Regions from separate parts of the Homo sapiens genome. Here regions 2, 3 and 4 are each linked to region 1. Evidence: promoter capture Hi-C in human tissues and cell types (Jung and others, 2019). All regions are on one chromosome and are shown on one strand. Each heading gives the region's core, a stretch centred on a gene start or on the middle of the fragment in contact. The rest is flanking DNA. Distances are from core to core; before and after follow the strand shown. Region 1 holds the start of ERAP2 (endoplasmic reticulum aminopeptidase 2). Region 2 overlaps CHD1 (chromodomain helicase DNA binding protein 1). Region 3 has its middle 63 kb from the start of RGMB. Region 4 overlaps RGMB (repulsive guidance molecule BMP co-receptor b).

Region 1 (2,597 bases), core at 48-2,547:
GTGGGATTTTTTCTTAGTTGGATAGAAAGAGATTGAAAATGATTCAAAAAGGCCAGTTGCGGTGTCTCATGCCTGTAATCCCAATCCTTTGGGAGGCTGAGGCAGAAGGATCACTTGAGCCTAGGAGTTTGAGACCAGCCTGAGCAACATGGGAAGACCTCATCTATAAAAAAAAAATAATAAATTAGCTGGGTGTAGTGGTGGATGCCTGTAGCCCCAGCTACTTGGGAGGCTGAGGTGGGAGGATCATTTGAGCTCAGGAAGTCAAGGCTGCAGTGAGCTGGGATGGCACCACTGCACTCCAACCTGGGTGACAGAGTGAGACCCTATCTCAAAAAAAAAAAAAAGAAAAGAAAAGGAAAAATCAACAGGCTTTGGTAACAAATTGGAGAGGGACAGAATCAAAGTAACTAACTATATGGTTCAATCCTAGATAATGGAAGAAGGCTGGAAGCATATAAAGCAAAGGGTGTTTATCTGGGGAAAGAAAACACTATTTGAGTTGTCAGGGTTCTGGTTCAGGTTAGGGTTAGACATCCATGTACTGTTGGTCCATCAGGCTGTTGGAATTACAGCAGCAGAACCCTTGAAGGAGGGATCACAATGGGAGCAATGTGGGATGAATGGGGATAAATGCTAAATCTGGGTACTGGAAAGGATAAAGAGAGGGCAGAGCAAAGGCCAGAGGTTTCATCTTTGTGGAAGGTCTGTATTCAGAGCAGAGAGGAAGTTGAAGCCCAACTCAAACAGGCAGATAAAGAGAGATCAAAGAGATGAGCATGAGATACAGTCCCCTCGTGCCCAAGGAGACAGGGTGGTTACAGACATGGAAAATCTGAGAATAATCACCTCTGATAAAGATCACAGAAGCTGCCCGGGAGGTGTTTGGTAAGCTTGGAGTTACGTTTGTGGGGTGGATGGGCAGAAGTCAGATTTCATAGCACTGAGGATGCAGCACAAGGAGAAGTTCAAGATCAATTCCTAAGACAACAACTTGGCACTAAAAAACATAAACTATGTTCTGAAGGCTTTACCCTGGGGACAAGGGAAGGGAGGTGATAACAGCAGAAGTGGCAGCCACTGGCGATCCTTTCTTTCCATGGTTTGGCTTCTACTCCAAAGCCACTTATTTGTGCATTCTACAAAAAGTTTCTTGTCCTTTTTGAAATAAAGCTCTTATCCTAAGCTCCATTCACACCTGCGTGATAATGAACCAGCTAGTACTTACTGTACTCAGGAAGCATGCAAAGTTCTGAATCTTAGAACAGAAAGTGAAAGCAAAAGTAAATTCCCCTTCAGTCAAATCTGCAGCAGCATGATTTAAGGTAACGTATCAACATTTCTCTTGGGTTTGTCTTAAAATTAGATTTTTTCAATAAGAATAATGAACTGAAGGTATAGAACTGCTGTGTTGAGAAGGTTTTGTAATCTAAGGCAAGGTTCTGGGGGACTGGGGTGAATTGGGCGCGGCTGTATTAGAAAGTGTATGCAGTTGAGGCTGGGACTTGATCTAAGACGCTGCTGCACTGACTCTCTTTCAGAGATCTTTTTGTCTTTTCTAAGCGTTTGTGACAATTCTTGCCTCTTCAATCCCAGGATGTTTTGTTCACTGCATTGCTATTTAAGGTACAGTGCAGTATAATAGAAAGCCCACCAGACCAAAGGGCAAAGAGCTATGTTTTAGTCCTGATTCTGTTTCAGACTTCCTGTGTGGATTTTGAGAAGTCACCATCCTGTTCCTTCATCTGTTTATTTAATTTAATTTATGTATTTATTTATTTATTTATTTTGAGAGAGAGCCTCGCTCTGTCGCCCAGGCTGGAGTGCAGCAGCACGATCTCGGCTCACTGCAACTTCCACCTCCCTGGTTCAAGCGATTCTCGTGCCTCAGCCTCCCGAGTAGCTAGGACTACGGGCATGTGCCACCATGCCCGGCTAATTTTTGTATTTTTAGTAGAGGTAGGGTTTCACCATGTTGGTGAGGCTGGTCTCGAATTCCTGACCTCAGGTGATCTGCCCACCTTGGCCTCCCAAAATGCTGGCATTACAGACCTGAGTCACTGTGCCCGGTCCTGTTTCTTTATCTGAACACTAAGGACTTGTACTAGCTGGCCTTTACAACCCTTACTAGTTCTAAAGTTAAAGACTGTGTGAGTAAAGCTTTTCTCTCTACTCTTATCAATCAAGTACATCTCTAGGAGTGTCTGCTACAAGTGGGGGCGAGCTACTCCTTCATTTTGGCCATTGAATGCAAGTTATAACCTCAATAATAATTTCATATCCAACACTAATTACTTACTTCCTATATGCTCCATGCTGTGCTGTGCCAACTTCTTCACATGAATTATTTCATTTAATCATCCCAGCATGAGGAAGGTATAATTATTACACTGTTTTATGGTTGAGATAAATGAAGCTCAAAAAGTAAAAAACTTTGCCCATGATCACGTAGGTGAGGTTGGTGGAATTAGCGTTGGAATCTGGGCACTCTGATTCCAAAGCCTCAGACCCACATAATAAGCCACTCCATTTTTTTTAAACCCTCCAAAATTCAAGCTAATAGACCAATTATGAGTGTACTTATCAGACGTTCTTGG
Region 2 (2,597 bases), core at 72-2,571, 2.0 Mb after region 1:
GCATCTATATTAATGTGCTTTTACATATTAACTCAGAAATATTTTAAAATATTTTTGCAGTTTCCTATGAAGCTGAAAGTCGTTTTTTAAAATCCTGTATTTAAAAATTAGTTGCTCTTCCAAATCCCTATCCCTTTTTAAGCTGTTGTATTTATAAAGCTATTTGTATTTATAAAGCTATGACAGCTAATTTGGGGTGCAAAGATTATTTTCTAGTTAGAAATAGTAATGGGGTAGAGTAAAAATCAGGCCATTTACTCCTAGAGCATATTCTTGATAAACTTCATGAAAATGAATAACCTACTCAACCTTTTCATATTAACTACAAAAAGAAATTATAATTTATATTACATAAAATTAAAAAGGTTCTCATTAAGCTACTCACTCTGAAAATAAAATTATTCAAACTCATTTTCCATAGTCTGAAAATTAATTTCTAACATACTCTAAACAAAGAATATCTTTATAAGCAAACAGGCTATTGCTTTTAGTAAGAATTATTTATTGTATAAAAGTGGAAGGTTAATTGGTACAGTACTATACATAATCTCTCACCCTTGAAAAATTAAACATAACTGGATAAAAATAACAAAGCAGAATGAAAACAGAATATTTTATGGAGAATGTTCTGCTATATTTATGTACTAATGTTCTTCACCATTGCGTCTTAATTTTTCTGATTTCTTACAAAAATGAACATATTTTATCATTTGATAAATGTACATACAGTTCTATATTTTTCATTCAACTCAGCTAACTAGCTGACTGAAACTTTCAACTAAATGTAGCACTATTTAAAAAATTAGAGCCTTATCTCAGAAAATGCAACATTGTTCTGTGAAATTTGCACAATATAATGCAAATATCTTAGCTTTTAGTAATAAATTAAAAAATGCCAGCCACCATCTTATGACTTAAGCATTATGAATTAGTCAAATGCTATCTTGTGGAATAAAATAGTCATACTAAATGTAGAGAAAAGTGATAAAAGTTTCAAAAATGTGTGCCAGGACTACCTTCATTACTTTTATATTTAATTATAAATTAGATGTTTAAAAAACTGAGCTACTCCCTCACATGTTCTCTCATATACCAGAAAAGAAACAAAGCATTATTATTCTTCAGGGTAACTGTATCAGAAAGAGAAATTACTGCAAAAAACAAAACAAAAAGCAAAAAAACCCACAAGCTTTTATACACATAAACCTAATTGGACAAAGGAAAATATTAAAAAATACACCTATGGACAAATATCTGTAGGTTGCTCCCACAGCTAATTAACAGTGACACACATAGCAATACTATAGAAATTATGTCCACATACTTATATTCGTCAAAGATTCAAATTTGTTACATCAAAGCATACATGCAAGAATGTGTGCCACATGACTTAAAAACTTCCCGCTGAATATAAAACAAAATAAAAATCTGTGAATAAATATAAAGCATCCCATAATAATATCTGTAGGAAGCCAAAAGGGGCCAACAAAAATGTCTATGACCTAAGTTTTACTTCATAGGAATATTCATAGTCTCCAAAACAGATTTAGTTGTAATGCTACACATTACAAATATTCAACTGCTTACCAAAATACTTTTTCTGGCAGCAAAATGTTACTTAAAAACGGGGGTAGGGGGCGGTGGTGGTGGTGGTAAGTGCTTGAGGGAGTAAGAATGCAGCAGAAAATTACAGGAGCCCACATATCCTTTTTCTTAAATTTAATTTGTCATATATAACGTTTTTATATACAATCAGTGTGCATTGTAACAGTTTATATTAAAAGTCAATCAAGTTTATCTAAAATGTTAACCTGGCTGCATAGCACATTTGACATTATTGCCCACATAAAACGGGAAAACAAACGGATTTACAATAACTTTTGGCCGTTTTGGATTCTGAAAAGTGTTTATACACCTACCCTTTTAAACCAGATGCATCTGAAAAAAGTGTTTCCAGAGCATGCAGTTTAGATTTTACATATCTCGCCATTTTTTAAAACTACAAACACAATATTGACTAAAAAAGGAAAAAAAAGGGAATAACATGTATCTAATAAAATATTCAGTATAAAAAGAGGACTAATGGAATTAAGTGGCCCCTTTCCCCATTTTTACATTCTAAACAATGATTCCATCAAGACAAATCATTAAAAAGTGTTATTACACTGATTTTTTTTTTTTTAATAAGAAGGCCTGAGTTGGTAGGGAAAGGAACAGTCAAAAAAAGCCTGAGAAAGGGAAGGAAGTAAGGAAAGTTCCTTTAATATTTACAATAATTTACAGCCATTTTTTTTGTAAAAAGGCATAATAGATCACAAACAGGAAATTCCTGGCTATTTTACAGATATAAGTACAGAATTTAAATATTCAAGCTTGTGATGAAAAGCGGCAAGGTGGTCGCAGTGTACAATGTAAACAAGTAGCTTTGGAAATGAACAAAGTCCTTGAGTGTTTTTCTTTATTAAGAAAGAACTCTCTTTCATTCCTTCCTGAAACATGATCACAGGTCAGAGTAAAGTTCATATATAAACATAATTTAAATGGAGGTCAGTCTAAAATCACTGACTTAAAAACAGTTTTATCCAGCCTGTATGGGA
Region 3 (2,597 bases), core at 69-2,568, 2.0 Mb after region 1:
GAGATTTAGGTAGGGACACAGGCAAACCATATCAGAGAGCTTGGTACATTTTTAAGGATTTCAAACAGACAGAAAAAAAGAGGTCTGATTTAAGGGACGGAAATCATCCACTACTATGTAGCAGCACTACTTGGCCTCTCAGGAGCATATTTCCCTTTCATTCATTTTTCTCTTTTATTCTTGCTGTCTCAATCCCAATTTATTCTATTTTGCCCACTTCACTCTGGGAAGGGTGAGCTACTCCCAGCTCCAGGGGTAAATCCTAATTTACCTAAGCTGATCATTGTGCTCCATTCATCTTGTCATAGATTGGCATATATATCTCTATATATAATATATGTGTGTATATATTTGTATATGTTATATATAATTGCGTATATGTTTATACACACACACACACACACACACACACACACACAGTAGTTCTGGCCCATGCATTGTGAGGGAAAACCTGCTGTAGAGACTTCTGGGAAAGAGTTTCGCTGCTGAGAAATGAAGTTCCCCTTCTTCTAGCCTTTGTTCCTCTTGGAACTGCAGCAGCCATCCTGTATTGAAGAAAACTATCTCAGGATGGCAGAGTAGAAAATGGAAAGGACCTGGGTCCTCAATCACATCATTAAATTGTTGATGAGTTATCCTTGAGACAAAATAGTTCAGGACTATGGAAGATAACTTCTCCTCAGTGTTTAAATCAGTCTAGTAAGGATTTTCTGCAGCCCAAAGTACACATTAATATGTAAAATGCAGCCAGAGTTAAGAAGAGTCAGATCAACCTTATCAAATGTTCCTGATAGTTGAAGAAGAAGAAGAAGAGTCATTCTTGGTTTAGGTCCAAATACAAAGTGAAAAACTCAAAATCCTTAATTTTATTTTAATACATATGTGCTATATATAACACATATAGCTTAGAAGGAAATTTTAGTCATACTTCTTCAAATAAATGAAGAAATATATCAGAAAAGAACTATTAGGAGGCAGATGATTATGATGACTAGATAGATAGATAGATAGATAGATAGATAGATAGATAGATAGATAGATAGAGGGACTTGGTACAGGGATTTGACCTTATCAACTTTGGGAGCTGGTTAAGCAGTCTCTGTAAGGCTGTAGACTTTGCACCTGATGCTGAAACTCTTCAGTCCATACAGTAGACAGTTGGGAAAGAAGATGGGTGTAAAGTGAGGAAGACCAAGGACAGTCTCAAATTCATAAGCACAATTGGAGCCCATGAGAACACACTGACCAATATGTCATTTCTTTTTGCTTCTCGCCTTAAGGAAATACAAGCCCTGCAGAAGCAAGGGCCTTTCATCAAGGTGTTAAACACACACACCTGGCCCAGGAGTCGGAGACACTGACTTCAGGGGAGGGTAGAACAGGTGCAGGCCTGGTCACTGACTCATGCCAGGAGGTGATCCAACAGACAAACAACGAGCTGTCTAGGCCATAAAATGGCTGCTTCTTCACTTTTACCCTCTGAATCTCGCACAAAAATGTCCCGCCCACTCTAACTGGCAACACACAGGACAGTAAATTCTGGGAAGTGTAATGTAGACTAGCCAAGTTGACACATTAAAAAGTCACCAAAGCTTGCCAGTTTCTTGTGAAATAAATGGAGTCTATTGTTATCGTGGTGTTTCTTTTTCTTAATCAAATAGGACAGTCTTTGGAAAGAACATTTACATATTTACATGCATCCTTACCAAAGCCTTTTAGTGGCATCTGTTTTGCAAAATATTTGCATCTGCTCAGTCATCTTACTATTTTAATTAGATATTATAAGTAAGAGAGTACTTACCGCCTCTGAACTGTATCCTGAACTTTCTCAAATATGCAGATAGTGAGAGATGTCCATTCTGAAAACAGTTGCTTTACAGACATATGCCACTTGTTATGATAGCAGAACACTTTTGCCAAAGTACCATATCCTAGTCTCAATTTTGCCAAATTTATCAAGAATAAATATTATCTCTACCCTAGAAGACCAATAATGAAGGTTACACATGATCAAGGTAATGTGAACAAGAATTGTCTAATATCTGAAAAATCTATTTTGACAAACATGTTTTCCTGTGTTATAGTTGAATGAAAGATTCAGCAGTGAATAAATCATAGACATCAGAACTATATACACAGGCCAAAGTTAAGAAATAAGCATATATGTTAGATGAGATTGGTGAAGTCAATAATTAACCTGTATCCACTTAGGTCAATTTACCTCTTTGTGTCTCTATTTTCTTATTTACAAAGTGAGATAAATAAAGCAAATTCTAAGATTAACTTCCAACTTGATTCTATATATATTTGTAAATGTATTCATGTATTTAATTCCAGTATTATTTAATACTTTAGGAGTATGGAATAAAACAATTTAAAACATAAAAATACTTATACATAAAATATTTATACATTTGCACAAGTATATTGCAAATATATCATTATAACAGAGGCATTAACTACTTTATAATTATTTGCATTAACCAAAAAATATAAATCCAACCAGAAAAATTTTGCATCAAATGTATCACAGAATATTTTTCTGTTTTTGTTATTGTTGTTGGTTGTTTTGAGACAGAGTCACATTTTGTTGCCCA
Region 4 (2,597 bases), core at 71-2,570, 1.9 Mb after region 1:
CCTGGGGGAGCTTAAAACGGGGGAAACACTGGTTTTCACAGATGCTCCACATGGCTGTCTTTAAAAGACTCAAAACTTTTTTTTGTCCTCTTTGTTATGCTTGGAAGCTCCCCCCCCCCCAACAGTGTGTCGAGTCTTTGCAAAGAAACCTTTAGATGTGGTTCATAGATATATGAATACGTATCTGTGTAAAACAGTGAGTGTGCAGTGTGTAAATACTTTAAATTATTATGCTAGAAAAATAAAGTTACATACCTTGCTGTGGAATGTCTGTTCTGTGATTATAGGGACACCTGCTGGAAGAACTGAGAGCTGCAGAAGAAAGGGAGTCGGGGGAGGGGGAATTGTATAAAATCCCTAAAGGTTACTGATAAGTCATGCCACCTGCCCACAAATTCGCTGATTTTCAAAACTATAGCATTACTGTCATTTTTTTTCTTTTGAAATTTTAAGCAGTTACAAATCCGTATCAGTGAGATTGGTCCACTAGTATTGTCCCAAAGTTCTGTCTTTAGTAACAGTTTTGGTCCCTTGAAGACATACAGCCTGCACTCTAGTTCTTTTTAAGGTGATGTGAACAGTAACGACTTCCTCCTGGTGGGGAGGATTTGGGAAGGCAGGATTTTCTGGCTTTGAAAACAAATCCTCACTTCTTGGGTTTTAAAAAGAGACATCAAGAGATCACAAGTTGGTCTTTGTTCAAGAAACACACCAAAGGGTAGAAAAGTTAGGAAAATAACTGAAACAAAAGGCACAGAGAAGCACTGTTACTTGTATTAGGTAGAATACTAAATGGATCAGATTCTGACTGGGATAAACATACATGTAATCATTTCTTCTTTTTTTTTTTTTTTCTTTTGGAGACAGGGTCTCACTCTGTCACCCAGGCCAGAGTGCAGTGGTGCAGTCTCAGCTCACTACAGCCTCAACTTCCAGGGTTCAAGTGATCCCCCCGAGTCGCTGGGGCTACAAGTGCATGCTACCATCCCCAGCTAATTTTTGTATTTTTTGTAGAGACTGAAGGCAGGGTTTCACCATGTTGCCCAGGCTGGTCTCAGACTCCTGGACTCAAGCAATCCGCCTGCTTCAGCCTCCCAAAGTGCTGGGATTACAGGCATGAGCCACCACACCTGGCCATAATCGTTTCTTAAAGAAAAAAGCTTAACCATTGCAGTTGACTATTTACATGTAGCAGTTCAGAGCAAAAAAAAAAAAAAAAAGACAATCATATCAGCTGAACCACATAAAATAGGATGAAATGACATAGTCACTGAGTACCCAGTGATGTGTCTGTGCTGAAAGAATGCAGATAATCTATAGCAGAACGAAATGTGCTATAGACTATTTGACTTTTATGCTTAAAGTCAAAAATAATTCTTTACCATTCTGTCTTCATTCCCAGAACTCCAGCTCTTTGGGGACTGAAACGTCAACTCCAAAATCCCAACAGCGACATCAACCCTAAGAGTCCTGTTATCTGATTTATTTTTTATCTTGTTTATTTTTAATTTTGTAGCATTGGCAGTATTCTATTGTCTGGAACTAGCTGGGATAACAGTCTTGGATTGCTGCTGTCCTTTCTGAGCAAAGATACCTTGCTGCAGATTTTCTCCCTGTTCTATTTGTATGTGAACCAATGTCTCCCCCACAGAGAAAGTAATCAGGATGTTCAAGGAGCAGTTTCAAAGTTCTTTATTATTTCACTACCTAACCATATTGTTACCTAAACCTAAACCATATTGTTTCTTTCTGCTTCTATCCCTTTTCTGTATGTCTTCCAAATGGACAAGTCACATGAAAGCAATTGTTATTATTTAGATGGTATTTTCCTTTAAATTTACTGCTCTTTGGCTGGGCACAGTGGCTCATGCCTGTAAACCCAGCAATTTGGAAGGTCGAGGCGGGCAGATCACTTGAGGTCAGGAGTTCGAGACCAGCCTGGCCAACATGGTGAAACTACCATCTCTACTAAAAATACAAAAATTAGCTAGGTGTGGCGGCGAATACGTGTAATCCCAGCTACACGGGAGGCTGAGGCAGAAGAATCGCTTGAACCCAGGAGGCAGAGGTTGCAATGAGCTGAGATCATGCCACTGCACTCTAGTCTGGGGTGACAGAGCGAGACTTAAAAAAAAAAAAAATTCTGCTCTTCTTCCCCCAGGTACCTCTAATAAGCATGCCATTTGATACTATCAACTAAATAATAGAATATGCTGTCCTTTGTACCCAAAAGGTTATGTCATGGCTCCCTGACGGTGAAATATGTGTGAAATCCAACCAACACCCAGCAGGATACACTAACAAACATTCTACAAAGCCAGAATGGATGCCCTCACCCTCCTTGGAATGATGTTAAACCAATTGAGTAAACTGGTCCTGCCAACTGCAATGTAATAAAGTAGGCCTATCAAACTTCAGCAGGAAGAAAGCAACAGGGCAATGTTTTCTGAGTTCTTCATGAGTAATATTTCTATGACCCATTTTTTATTTCAGTAATGAAAACTCCAACTCCAGAAGGAAAAAAAAAGCATTCTGCTACCAGATTGAATATACAAGACCTAGCCACAGATGAATTAACCAAGTAGGAATTGCACCTG

What was found. Contacts are between HindIII fragments. The study calls those that stand out against the background at their distance.
Region 2: a contact is called between a fragment that was not itself captured here and the fragment with the promoter of ERAP2 in region 1, in 1 of the 25 tissues and cell types used here (dorsolateral prefrontal cortex).
Region 3: a contact is called between a fragment that was not itself captured here and the fragment with the promoter of ERAP2 in region 1, in 1 of the 25 tissues and cell types used here (dorsolateral prefrontal cortex).
Region 4: a contact is called between a fragment that was not itself captured here and the fragment with the promoter of ERAP2 in region 1, in 1 of the 25 tissues and cell types used here (dorsolateral prefrontal cortex).

What each region holds. Positions count from the first base shown.
Region 1 is chr5:96,875,203-96,877,799 of GRCh38, forward strand. ERAP2 (endoplasmic reticulum aminopeptidase 2) reads left to right here and starts at 1,298. Exons shown (of 19, transcript NM_022350.5): 1 at 1,298-1,325. It also overlaps a transcript of ERAP1 not described here. RefSeq lists enhancers at 937-1,066, 1,087-1,236, 1,407-1,616, 1,987-2,196. The HindIII fragment of the contact is 2,321 bases long and covers 1-1,526 here.
Region 2 is chr5:98,853,500-98,856,096 of GRCh38, forward strand. It overlaps CHD1 (chromodomain helicase DNA binding protein 1), which reads right to left. Exons shown (of 36, transcript NM_001270.4): 36 at 486-2,597. Among named protein-coding and RNA genes, the nearest start is that of CHD1-DT, 74 kb to the right of the region's middle. The HindIII fragment of the contact is 3,415 bases long and covers 1-2,597 here.
Region 3 is chr5:98,834,998-98,837,594 of GRCh38, forward strand. No RefSeq gene overlaps it. Among named protein-coding and RNA genes, the nearest start is that of RGMB, 63 kb to the left of the region's middle. The HindIII fragment of the contact is 5,018 bases long and covers 1-2,597 here.
Region 4 is chr5:98,796,228-98,798,824 of GRCh38, forward strand. RGMB (repulsive guidance molecule BMP co-receptor b) reads left to right here. Exons shown (of 3, transcript NM_001366508.1): 3 at 1-267. Among named protein-coding and RNA genes, the nearest start is that of RGMB, 24 kb to the left of the region's middle. The HindIII fragment of the contact is 5,798 bases long and covers 1-2,597 here.